Linked DNA regions of Homo sapiens: region 1 is linked to region 2. The links are contacts of gene promoters, found by promoter capture Hi-C in human tissues and cell types (Jung and others, 2019). All regions are on one chromosome and are shown on one strand. The core of a region is centred on a gene start or on the middle of the fragment in contact, and the rest is flanking DNA. Distances in the headings are between cores, read along the strand shown.

Region 1 (4,942 bases), core at 2,374-4,873, 38 kb before region 2:
CTGGGTAAAGTATCCTCATGCCTTACGCCATGTCAGTGGCTTGGCAGTTTGACATTGCAGGTGCACTACTCTTGTGAAAAGAATGGGTGTGGGTTGTTTACAAGTCACAGTTTCTCAAGTGAGTTTGCAGGCCGAAGTCCCCAGGCAAAAGTCAAATTCCTAAGGCCTGAGGAAGGGGCTAGGGTGGAGGATCAGCAGGAAGAAAATCCCTTAGTTATGAGGGAAAAGGTTGCAGAAGTTGTGTTAAGGCTTTGCAAGTCAGGTGGAATATGATGCATGTCTTCATTCTGCAGACACTTCCCAAGTGTCTGCTCGCGCCAGGCGTGCTTCTGAGTGCTGAGAGCTCACACAGAGTCAGCACTGGGGAGGGAAGAGAGGTGGCAACCAGAACATGAGCAGGTGAGTTTTTGTGCCACGTACAGATGGAGACAGCAGCACCAGTGCTGGCGTGTCTTTGTGGCGAAGGTGAGAAGATTGGAGGTGGATGATCATGGAATTGCTCTTCCAAGGAGAGAAAGAGCCATGGGAAGATTCCAGGATCAGACGATTCTAGACCTGTGCTGTCCAGTATGGCAGCCACTAACCACAGGAGGCTGTGGAGCACTCAGGATGTGGCCGTGCTGCAGTTGTAAAATACATACTGGACTTCAAAGGCTCAGTACTAAAAAGAGAATGTAAAATATCTCAGTATTTTTCTTATGTTGATTACATTTTGAAATGATAATATTATGGATATATTGGGTTAAAAAAATATACTGTATGATTAAAATTAATTTCACCTATTTCTGCATGCTGTTGAGCATGGCTAGTAGAAAATGTAAATTATACACATCGTTCGCATTATATGACATTGTCTGTGGGACAGCACTGCCCTGGACTGACAGACAGCATGAGGACCTTAGCAAGAGAGAGTCAGAGTATTGGGGAACTCAAGTCCAGGCGTGGAGAGCAGGAGGGGGCCGTGTGTGCTGGACTGACAGCATGAGGACCTTAGCAAGAGAGAGTCAGAGTATTGGGGAACTCAAGTCCAGGCGTGGAGAGCGGGAGGGGGGCATGTGTGCTGGACGTGTAGATGCATGGATGGAGGGTAGATAGGACAGCCTGAGGGCCTGCGAGACCACAGAAAGGGCAAATGGGGGCCATGAAGGTTTCCACTGGGGGTAAGGGGCACCATCTGACGGCTTTAGGCTGATTTGTTTTAGTTTCAATTTGAGAGTAAGATTTTCCAAAGTTGTTCCCAAATCTCAGAGTTCAGTTCACTCCCTACACTCTCACACTGGCTTCACGACCCTCACGGATGTGAAGTAGTTTATTTAGCATGCTTCATTCATTTTACTAATTTAAGCCATTTCTTTCCTAGGATTTGAAGCCTAGCAACATTGTTGTGAAATCAGACTGCACCCTGAAGATCCTTGACTTTGGCCTGGCCCGGACAGCGTGCACTAACTTCATGATGACCCCTTACGTGGTGACACGGTACTACCGGGCGCCCGAAGTCATCCTGGGTATGGGCTACAAAGAGAACGGTGAGTATAGCCGGGGCTGGAAGAGGCTGGGATGTTTAGAAATTGCTCTAGCGGTGGTCTCGAGTTTTTTCTCTTTCCTTTGAACCATATGATATATACTGTGGGGACTGTTACACCCAGAATATAGCATGATCCAGAGATAAGAAATAATTAATTGTGTTTTTCCATTGGTTAAAATCATTCTCTTTTAAAAATTCACTTTTAAAATTGTTATTTTTGAACTTTTTAATCAGAGTTAAGCTGTCTATAGCCAAGTGTGCAAATCCTGAGTGTGCAGCTCAGCTGAGGTGAGCACACCCACAGCAGCAGCAGCTCTGGCCTCCCCATGGCCCCTCCTCGCAGCCCACGAGGCTGGCCAATCTCCTGATCTCCAGTACCATGGATCAGCTTTATTTGTTGGTCTGCATATTGTTTTTTTGAATTTGATGTAAATAGAATAACACATGTTTTCATGTAAAATTGGTGTCTTTTTACATCAAAACTTAGCTTATTCTAGCAATATCAGAGCTCTTTGAAACTTGGCTTTTAGCAAATTTGTTGAAAATAACGAAATCACGCTTACTTATTTTTAAAAAGACTGAAAGTTTGCCCGGGTCATCTGAAATGAGTTTTGCTACAGGTTCATCTTGCTGCGTTGTAGCTTGTGTTCCCACCCTGAGGGGCACAGCTTCATGTGCTTCCTGTGGAGGGGAGAGAAAACTTGATCCCCTGTTCACTTCTCCCCTCGGCCCGCCAGCAGGGCACTTAGAGGCCTCTGCTGTCTGTCTGAGGCCCCACAGATGAGGGTGGGCACCGTGGAAGTCTGGGCCCCTCTAGCAGGGCCTCACCTGCAGTCCTGCAAGCCAGCCAGCCTGTGCCGCCAGTGAGTGCTGCTGCCTTTCTGACGGGGCAGTCTAGAAAATGATCGCTCAGGAGGTGTGGTATCAACAACGCACAGAGGCTCCCGCCGGCAAGCTAGTGACGTGTACCGGGTTTGTCCTGGGAGGGGGTTTGAAGAAAAAAGATGGGGGACTCTAGCTGGTTTTTAATCCCCTGGTGTTTGGTAGTGGACATCTGGTCTGTCGGGTGCATCATGGCAGAAATGGTCCTCCATAAAGTCCTGTTCCCGGGAAGAGACTGTATCCTTCACAGGGGACCCGGTACTTGGCCATGGAGGCTGGGGTGGGCGTGTGGCCCTGAAAAGCTTTGTGTTCACAGGCACTTCTTGTTTCTGGTTTTTTGTTTGTTTGTTTGTTTGTTTTAAGCTATAAAGTATTGGACTCTTTGGCACTAAAACCCCAGATTGCTACAAACCGAAGGCTAAAATAGAGGTCAGCAATCATTCATATTGTGTAAAATGTCACCCTTAGCTAGCAATTTATTTTTCCATATTTGTGTGTTTAGTGCACTGTTAGAATTCCTTTTCCTCACTTTTGTTTTGTTCATGGCACTTCATAATTTTATCATTTCATTTTATTTTCAGTTGATATCTGGTCAGTGGGTTGCATCATGGGAGAGCTGGTGAAAGGTTGTGTGATATTCCAAGGCACTGACCGTATCCTTCCCCGCGACCTTGGCCCCGCCATGCTTTCTTAATGCCTCAGGCAGCATGACCACCTGCTTACACGAGCGCTCACGAGGACAAAGTCGTAAAATCCACTCCAGACTGTGTTCTAAGGGGGGCTTTACTGTATTTGTTAATTAGTGTCACAAGCCAAGTGGTTCAATTTCATTCTTTATTTTTAACTTGACTACCTGTGATGACTTTGAGACTTAGAGTTCAGTTAAACCGATTATATTAGCTCTTAATTTTGCCAAAAATAGCTGGACACATAGAAGAAATTATTTACTCTTTGATAAGTATATTCTGATATTTAAATGAAAATACTGTATTATTTAGTTTATTCCGTTAATTTAACTAGGAAAGATGCTATCTAAATTTAATAGGCTAGTGTGCTTGTGTGCTTTAATTAAGTACTATTTTGTTAGTTACTGGTATGCATTGAAATATTTTCCCCCAAAGTAAGAACTGAAGCACATTACAAAGGACCTAAGTGAAAGAGATTAAAATGAAAATTTTGTGAGGAACAATATGTTAAACTTTCTTGTTTGTTACTGTGCTGACATTTTGTAGAATTTTTTTTAAAAATCTGTCTAGTGGGTTATTTTGTGACACACTGGGGAAGTCAAAATAAATGTAAAATGAAAGAGATAAACTCATACTGTAGTCAGCAAGTCATGTTAGAGATACAGCAGAAAGGAGAATAACTACTCTAATTGTTACAATAGCCTTCTTTCCTCATTTGCCATTCTTCCATCCTCAGTATTTTTTACCCTAACATGGTTCTTCACATCTTCCCTTTTTCATTTGTGTTTTAACCACTTAGTTTTTCATTAGTCTTTGACTTTGTTTTCGTTATGAAAGTTTAAATTGGTCTCCATCCTTGGGCAGATTGATGGTTGCTTTTAAGGAAATCAAGCTCCATAGTCAGTGTTTTGTATGTATCTTAGGAAAATAATTTCAGATTTTAATAATTTTATCAAAGTGGTCTCCTTATAAATTCTTCACAGTGCAAACTTAAAGTGAAAATATTTTTATTTCTCTCATTTTATTTACCTTTCTTTACATTTTCTATATCATAGATTATATAATATGTCAAGTTATTTTATTTGTTCTACTAAATTTTCTAGCAGTTTCCATAGCCTCATCTCAGATTCACTTGTTGCAACCTATAAATAAGGACGTCTTTATTTTGCAAGTAAACTTAATTAAAAAGGGAAAAGTTGAAAAATTAAAAGACTAATAATTTAGAAATATCTACTTAATGTTCAGTTTGTCTCAATTCTTACTCATTTTGTGCCATTCCTTGTTTTATTACAAAATGTTTTCTTCAAAAAGTACAAAAATGAAAAATGTGAGTACTTTTTGGTGCATTTTAGTAAGTAAAATTAAAATTCCTGCTATACATATGAACATTAATGTCAGTAATTAATAGTGTTATATATAAGGTTACCTAATGTTATTCCCAAAAGCCACACAGAGTTTAACATCATTTTCTAAAGAAAATTTTGCCAACTCTTTCAAATATTAGATTGAAATTTGGGAGATAGAAAAAAGTTGCAGAAATCAGACTGAGGGTCTCAGAGATTTGCTTTAATTTGCGACCCAGGGTAGAAAAGGAACTCCTGTCCCTGCGGTGGTCTATGAGAAAGAGAAAGCTTTAGCCCGGCCACCTCGGGCCCCAGCTCAGACTCCTCCCCTTGGCAGCCATGCATCCTTGAGAAATTTAGGGCCTCTCTGAGCCTTGGTTTCCCCTTCTGTAAAATAGACCTGTGGTCTGCCTGCAGCTTCACGAGAGTTAGACAACAGGGTCCACTGGGCTTGTCGGAATTATTGTTCCCCTTCCCCCGTCCCTCTCATCTGTCCCCCATCCCTC
Region 2 (4,753 bases), core at 1,822-4,321:
TCCTGGGCCCTCCCTTCTAAAGCAGCCCCACCGCACTCAACCACCTCCCCAGTATGGCTTCCTTCATGGCGCTCGGCGCTCTCCGAAATGATTGTTTTTACTCTTTTGTTTGTATGGTTAGTTTTCAGCCTCCCTTCTCTAAACCATGAGTTCCAGGGGGCAGGAACCCCATGTCGGGCTCTCTGCTATATTCCCAGCACCCAGCATGGTGCCCGGCACACATAGGCCCTAGGTAAGTGTCCACCCAATAGATGTCTCAGGGCAGTGGTGGGGTGAGGGGAGACTGAGTTGACGGCCCTAGGGATGGCTCACCCTCTGTCCCAATGCCCTCACTCAGGGATTAGCCCCGGGGCACGTTCTGGAGTGAGAAGTTGGGTGGGCAGGGTAGGGGCTGGGCAGGAGAGGTTCCTTGCTAGAGGGCACTCCTGGGTGGGCTATGAGGGGGCGGGAGCAGATACCTCCCAGGGCCCAGTGGTGGCACCTGCAGCCAGGGTCCCACAAAGCTGGAGGCTCAGGGCAGAACTCCACGCTGGCCGCGAGGCTCAAAAACCTTCCTGGTGTTGCATGAGCCGCGACTGCAGCTCATGCGTCTTCCTCAGCACAGGCCCAACTCTCGGCAGCGATGGGTCTGGCAGGGAGAGGACGCAGGAGACCTCAGGGGACACGGTCTTCTCCTTTGTCCCAGAGCAAAGCTCTGCCACCCTCACCCCTGTGGGACACGGAGCTGTGGCCATGAGCTAGTCCACACCCATGTTCCAGTTGCCCTGGCCTCATCCAAGCATCCCCTACCCTGCTCCCAGCAGGGCAATCATGCTTCAGTGGCCCCAGCCACTTGCTGGAGAAAGTTCTTTATCAGGGGACAGCAGCCTTTGCTCACAGAGCAAGGGTGAGCTGGGGAAAGACTGGCCTCACCACCCTGACCTGCACTTGGTTAGGAGGGCCGCTCAGTGCTGCCCAGACCCCAGAACAACACAGCTGAGTGGGTCAGCTCTTCTGAGGTGCCTCTTGCGGCCTCTCCTCCTAGACTCCTGGCTTCCTCCAGGCGACACCCTGGGACTGGACCTGAGGCTTAGGGGCATAGGGTGATAATCGGAGAAGATGCAGGGAGGGCCCAGTGCCTGCACCCTGAGGCGCATCTGTCTATCTGCTGGGAGCACACTGCTCACCCCTGACCAAGTGCCTGCCTCTGTTCCTCCTCCCTTTCCCCACACCTGACCCTTGGTCTCAGATGTCACCCTCCCTAGGGCCAGCCTCTGGCCCTGGCCCTGGCCCCAGCCCTGCTGTCTCCCTGCCTAGCTACCTGGCCCACATTCATTCTAATACATCTGTATGCCCTAGGCAGCTGCCTGCTCTCTCCAGGACTCAGTTTCCCTAACTGTTCAAGAAATGGGCTGGACTGTTGTTCTTAACCTGTCCATTCTTCCAGGAACAGCCTTCACGGAAGCTTGGAACAGCACCTTACTCCATCCTCAAAGCTGACACAGGACTAACTCTGCCTCAGCTCTAGTGAGACGACACCCAGGCCTGCTATTCCTGCTCCCTAGGTCTTTGGAAATGGCCTGAGCTCAGCTCCTCGGAGCCTGTGTGTGGCAGCCGCAGGCTGTCCTTGCAACTATCAGGCAGCTGTGCCCTCTCTGAGGTGTCAACCCAGGGCCATTCTGCCACAGAAAGACTGGGAGATAGGGGAGGCCAGTTTCTATGCACATAGGTTAAGTACCTGGATCTAGCCATTCCTCTAAGCAGTAAACCTTGGCTTTTTATGATCCACAAACCAGCTTTTTGCTCAAGCTGGTTGGGTTGAGTTTTGGGCCACATCTCATCAGGCAGGTCCTGACTAAAGCAGAGTGAGGTGAAGGCAGCTGGAACTTCCGTGTCGGGTGGGGACTTGGAGAACTTTTCTGGCTAGCTAGAGGATTGTAAATGCACCAATCAGCACTCTGTAAAAACGCACCAATCAGCACTCCGTGAAACGGACCAATCAGCAGGACATGGGTGGGGACAAATAAGGGAATAAAAGCTGCCCGCCCACCCCTCGCCAGCCAGCAACAGCGGCGACCGGCTGTGGTCTTTTTCCCTGCTGTGGAAGCTTTGTTCTCTTGCTCTTCACAAGACATTTTGCTGCTACGCACTCTTTGGGTCTGCACCACCTTTTTCTTTTCTTTTCTTTTTTTTTTTTTTTGAGATGGAGTCTTGCTCTGTCGCCCAGGCTACAGTGCAGTGGTGCAATCTCTGCTCACTGCAAGCTCCACCTCCCCGGGTTCACGCCCTTCTCCTGCCTCAGCCTCCCGAATAGCTGGGACCACAAGCGCCCACCACCAAACCTGGCTAATTTTTTTGTATTTTTAGTACAGACAGGGTTTCACCGTCGCACCACCTTTAAGAGCTGTAACACTCACTGCCAAGGTCCCTGGCTCATTCTTGAAGTCAGCCAGACCAGGAACCCAGCGGAAGGGACAAACTGCGGACACAGGAGGACAGGTGTCCTGACCTCTATGCTGGGACCAACCAGGGAACTTTTCACTGAAGACCCAGTTCAAGGAGGCCACTGGATCCTGTTAGAGCCCCTCTCCCTTTCTAAAAGTGAAATCATGCATCGCCATCCTCCCAGAACCCCGGTGTCTTCAAAGTGGTGTCCACCCTCCCTGGGGGCCACGGGAGAGCGCCGAGAAGGTTGGGGAGGGGGGGTGTCCACCCAGGGATGTCCCATTGGGGGACACAGACAACCTAGGTGGCCAGTCCAGAGAACCGGGCCGGGCCCAGTCTTGAGGAGAGAGGGTGAACTGGGTTTTGGGGCGCCAGAGGCCCACCAGGTGAGGTGTAGGCTGGGGCAGCTGGGGCGCAGAGTCCGCCAGGGTCCGCGCGCGGGAGGGCAGCGTCTGACGGCCCGAGCGGGTGGTCCTGGCGCGGGGGGCCAGCCGCCGCGGAGGCCTGAACGCAGGGCGGGACGCTTGGCTCCGCGGCCGGGGCACGGAGGGCCCTGGTGTGCAGCGCCGCCCGCGGGCTCCCGCAGCTCCACCCCCGCGCCCCGCCCGCTCCGCGCTGCCTGAGTGCCACGAGGGGGCGCAGCGCCGCGTTGCTCCGGGGCCGCCGCCAGGCGCTCGTGCGGGCTGCGCTGGGAGCCGGGCGGTCGGGCGGCGGCGGCGGCGGCGGCGGCGGCGGCGGCGGCGGCGGGCGGCGCCCCGGTCCGCGGCGCCGAGGCTCGCACCGGGAGCTGCCCATGGGCCGGGCCCGGAGTTCCGGCGCGCCGGGAGCCGGTGAGTGGTGCGCGGCCGAGGGACACCTGGCGGTGCGGGCAAGGGCGCGGGCTCGCGGGGGCTGGGGAGGGCTGCCGGCGGCGCGGCGGGGTCGGCGGGAGGCGGGAGGCTGCGCGCGGCGCGGGAGCGTGCGCCGGGGTCAGCAGGGGCGGGGTCCGCGCGGCCGCCGGGACTGGAGGCGCGGGGGTAGCGGGTAGGGTACCCTGAGGGCACACCCCCGGCCACCTGGCGGGAGACCCAGCTCTGCCGCGCGCCGCCAGCCCCTGCTGGGCGCGAGGAGCAAGCTTCTTTCAGCCGCTAGAGTGGCAGGAAGAGCCAGCCTAGACCAAAGCCTCCACCCGCACCGGACCTCAGTTTCCCCGTCTATGAAATGGGGACGGGAAAGCAGACCTGCCGGTGCACGTGCAGAAGGGAAAGGGCCTTGCGCCTGGGGGAAGAGGGTGCTGTCACCCTTGAGGATGGGATCGGATTTGAGGAAAGGACCAGCGCCACTATCAGAGGGCCTGCGAGAACAGTGGGGTCTGCTGGGAGTCCTGGGTGTGTCCCTCACGCAGTGACAGCGGACGGCATCAAGGGACCACCTGGTCCACTCATTGTATTTAGATTGGGAAAGCGATGCTTGGGGGGACTTGGGGAAGGGTGCTGGCGACGCCGCCCCATGCTCAGCGTGGGCGTGGGAAACTGTGGGAAAGACAGAGCTGGGAAGTTGGGGTGCTGGTGGAGCTCTTCCGGGCCCGTATCTCCTGCCTCCTGGGGCTGTGGGAGAGACAGAAGTTCTGAGCCCCGGGAGCCTGAGAAGAGTCCTGGGAAGCTCTGCCTGCCAGGCAGGTGGAGTAACTGAGGTTTAGAGAGGGGCGGGACCATGGAGTGGCAACGCTGGGGTCCCACCTCTGGTAAGACTGGCTCCAACAGCCATAGTGCAGCCACTGTGCAGGCGACCGGTGGAGGGGGGCTAGGGTTGTCCACTCACTGGCCACATTCATTGAGCGCCTACTGTGTGCCGCCTGCTGCCTGCCCCCGTAAGTGCTCACTAGCTGGTGTGGGAGGGGACACCAAACAAGAAATCAAAGGCAAAAGCAAGGACATGGCCAAGATCTTATGCGTGCTGGGAAGAACATGCAGTAGGGTGACTGGGGCAGAGGGAGACCAGGGCGCGGCGGAGCCTTCGTCTGGTCAGGGAGGCTGTCCTGAGCGGGGAGCCCAGCCTGTGATGGACGGGTAGCCCGGGGGAACAGCGCGGGTGAGATCCCTGAGGGCAGGAGGGGGCGGAGCTGGAGCTGAGACGCTACAGGGTCTGGACGTCCTGGGCAGCCCCCAGGCGGTTTGCAGGTTGGGCGTCGAAAGGCTGCCCGTGGCGGCGGGTGGGCGCACTGCCGGGGCAGGAGAGGGAGGGCAGGCGAGAGAGGGACGGGCTGCGGAGCCCAGGGCGGGACTGGCGAGGGGGAGCCCGCAGGCCACCAGGTAGAGGTGGGGCCCTGCCCGGGACCTGGCCCTTTTCA

The links. The method cuts DNA at HindIII sites, captures the fragments that hold promoters and counts their contacts. A contact is called where the count stands out against the background at its distance.
Region 1: a contact is called between a fragment that was not itself captured here and the fragment with the promoter of RASGEF1C in region 2, in 1 of the 25 tissues and cell types used here (dorsolateral prefrontal cortex).

Annotation. Positions count from the first base shown.
Region 1 is chr5:180,245,557-180,250,498 of GRCh38, reverse strand. MAPK9 (mitogen-activated protein kinase 9) reads left to right here. Exons shown (of 12, transcript NM_002752.5): 6 at 1,361-1,526; 7 at 2,989-3,060. Among named protein-coding and RNA genes, the nearest start is that of RASGEF1C, 39 kb to the right of the region's middle. The HindIII fragment of the contact is 5,555 bases long and covers 846-4,942 here.
Region 2 is chr5:180,207,529-180,212,281 of GRCh38, reverse strand. It overlaps RASGEF1C (RasGEF domain family member 1C), which reads left to right and starts at 3,071. Exons shown (of 14, transcript NM_175062.4): 1 at 3,071-3,254. RefSeq lists a silencer at 2,936-3,155 and an enhancer at 4,280-4,753. The HindIII fragment of the contact is 4,624 bases long and covers 1,766-4,753 here.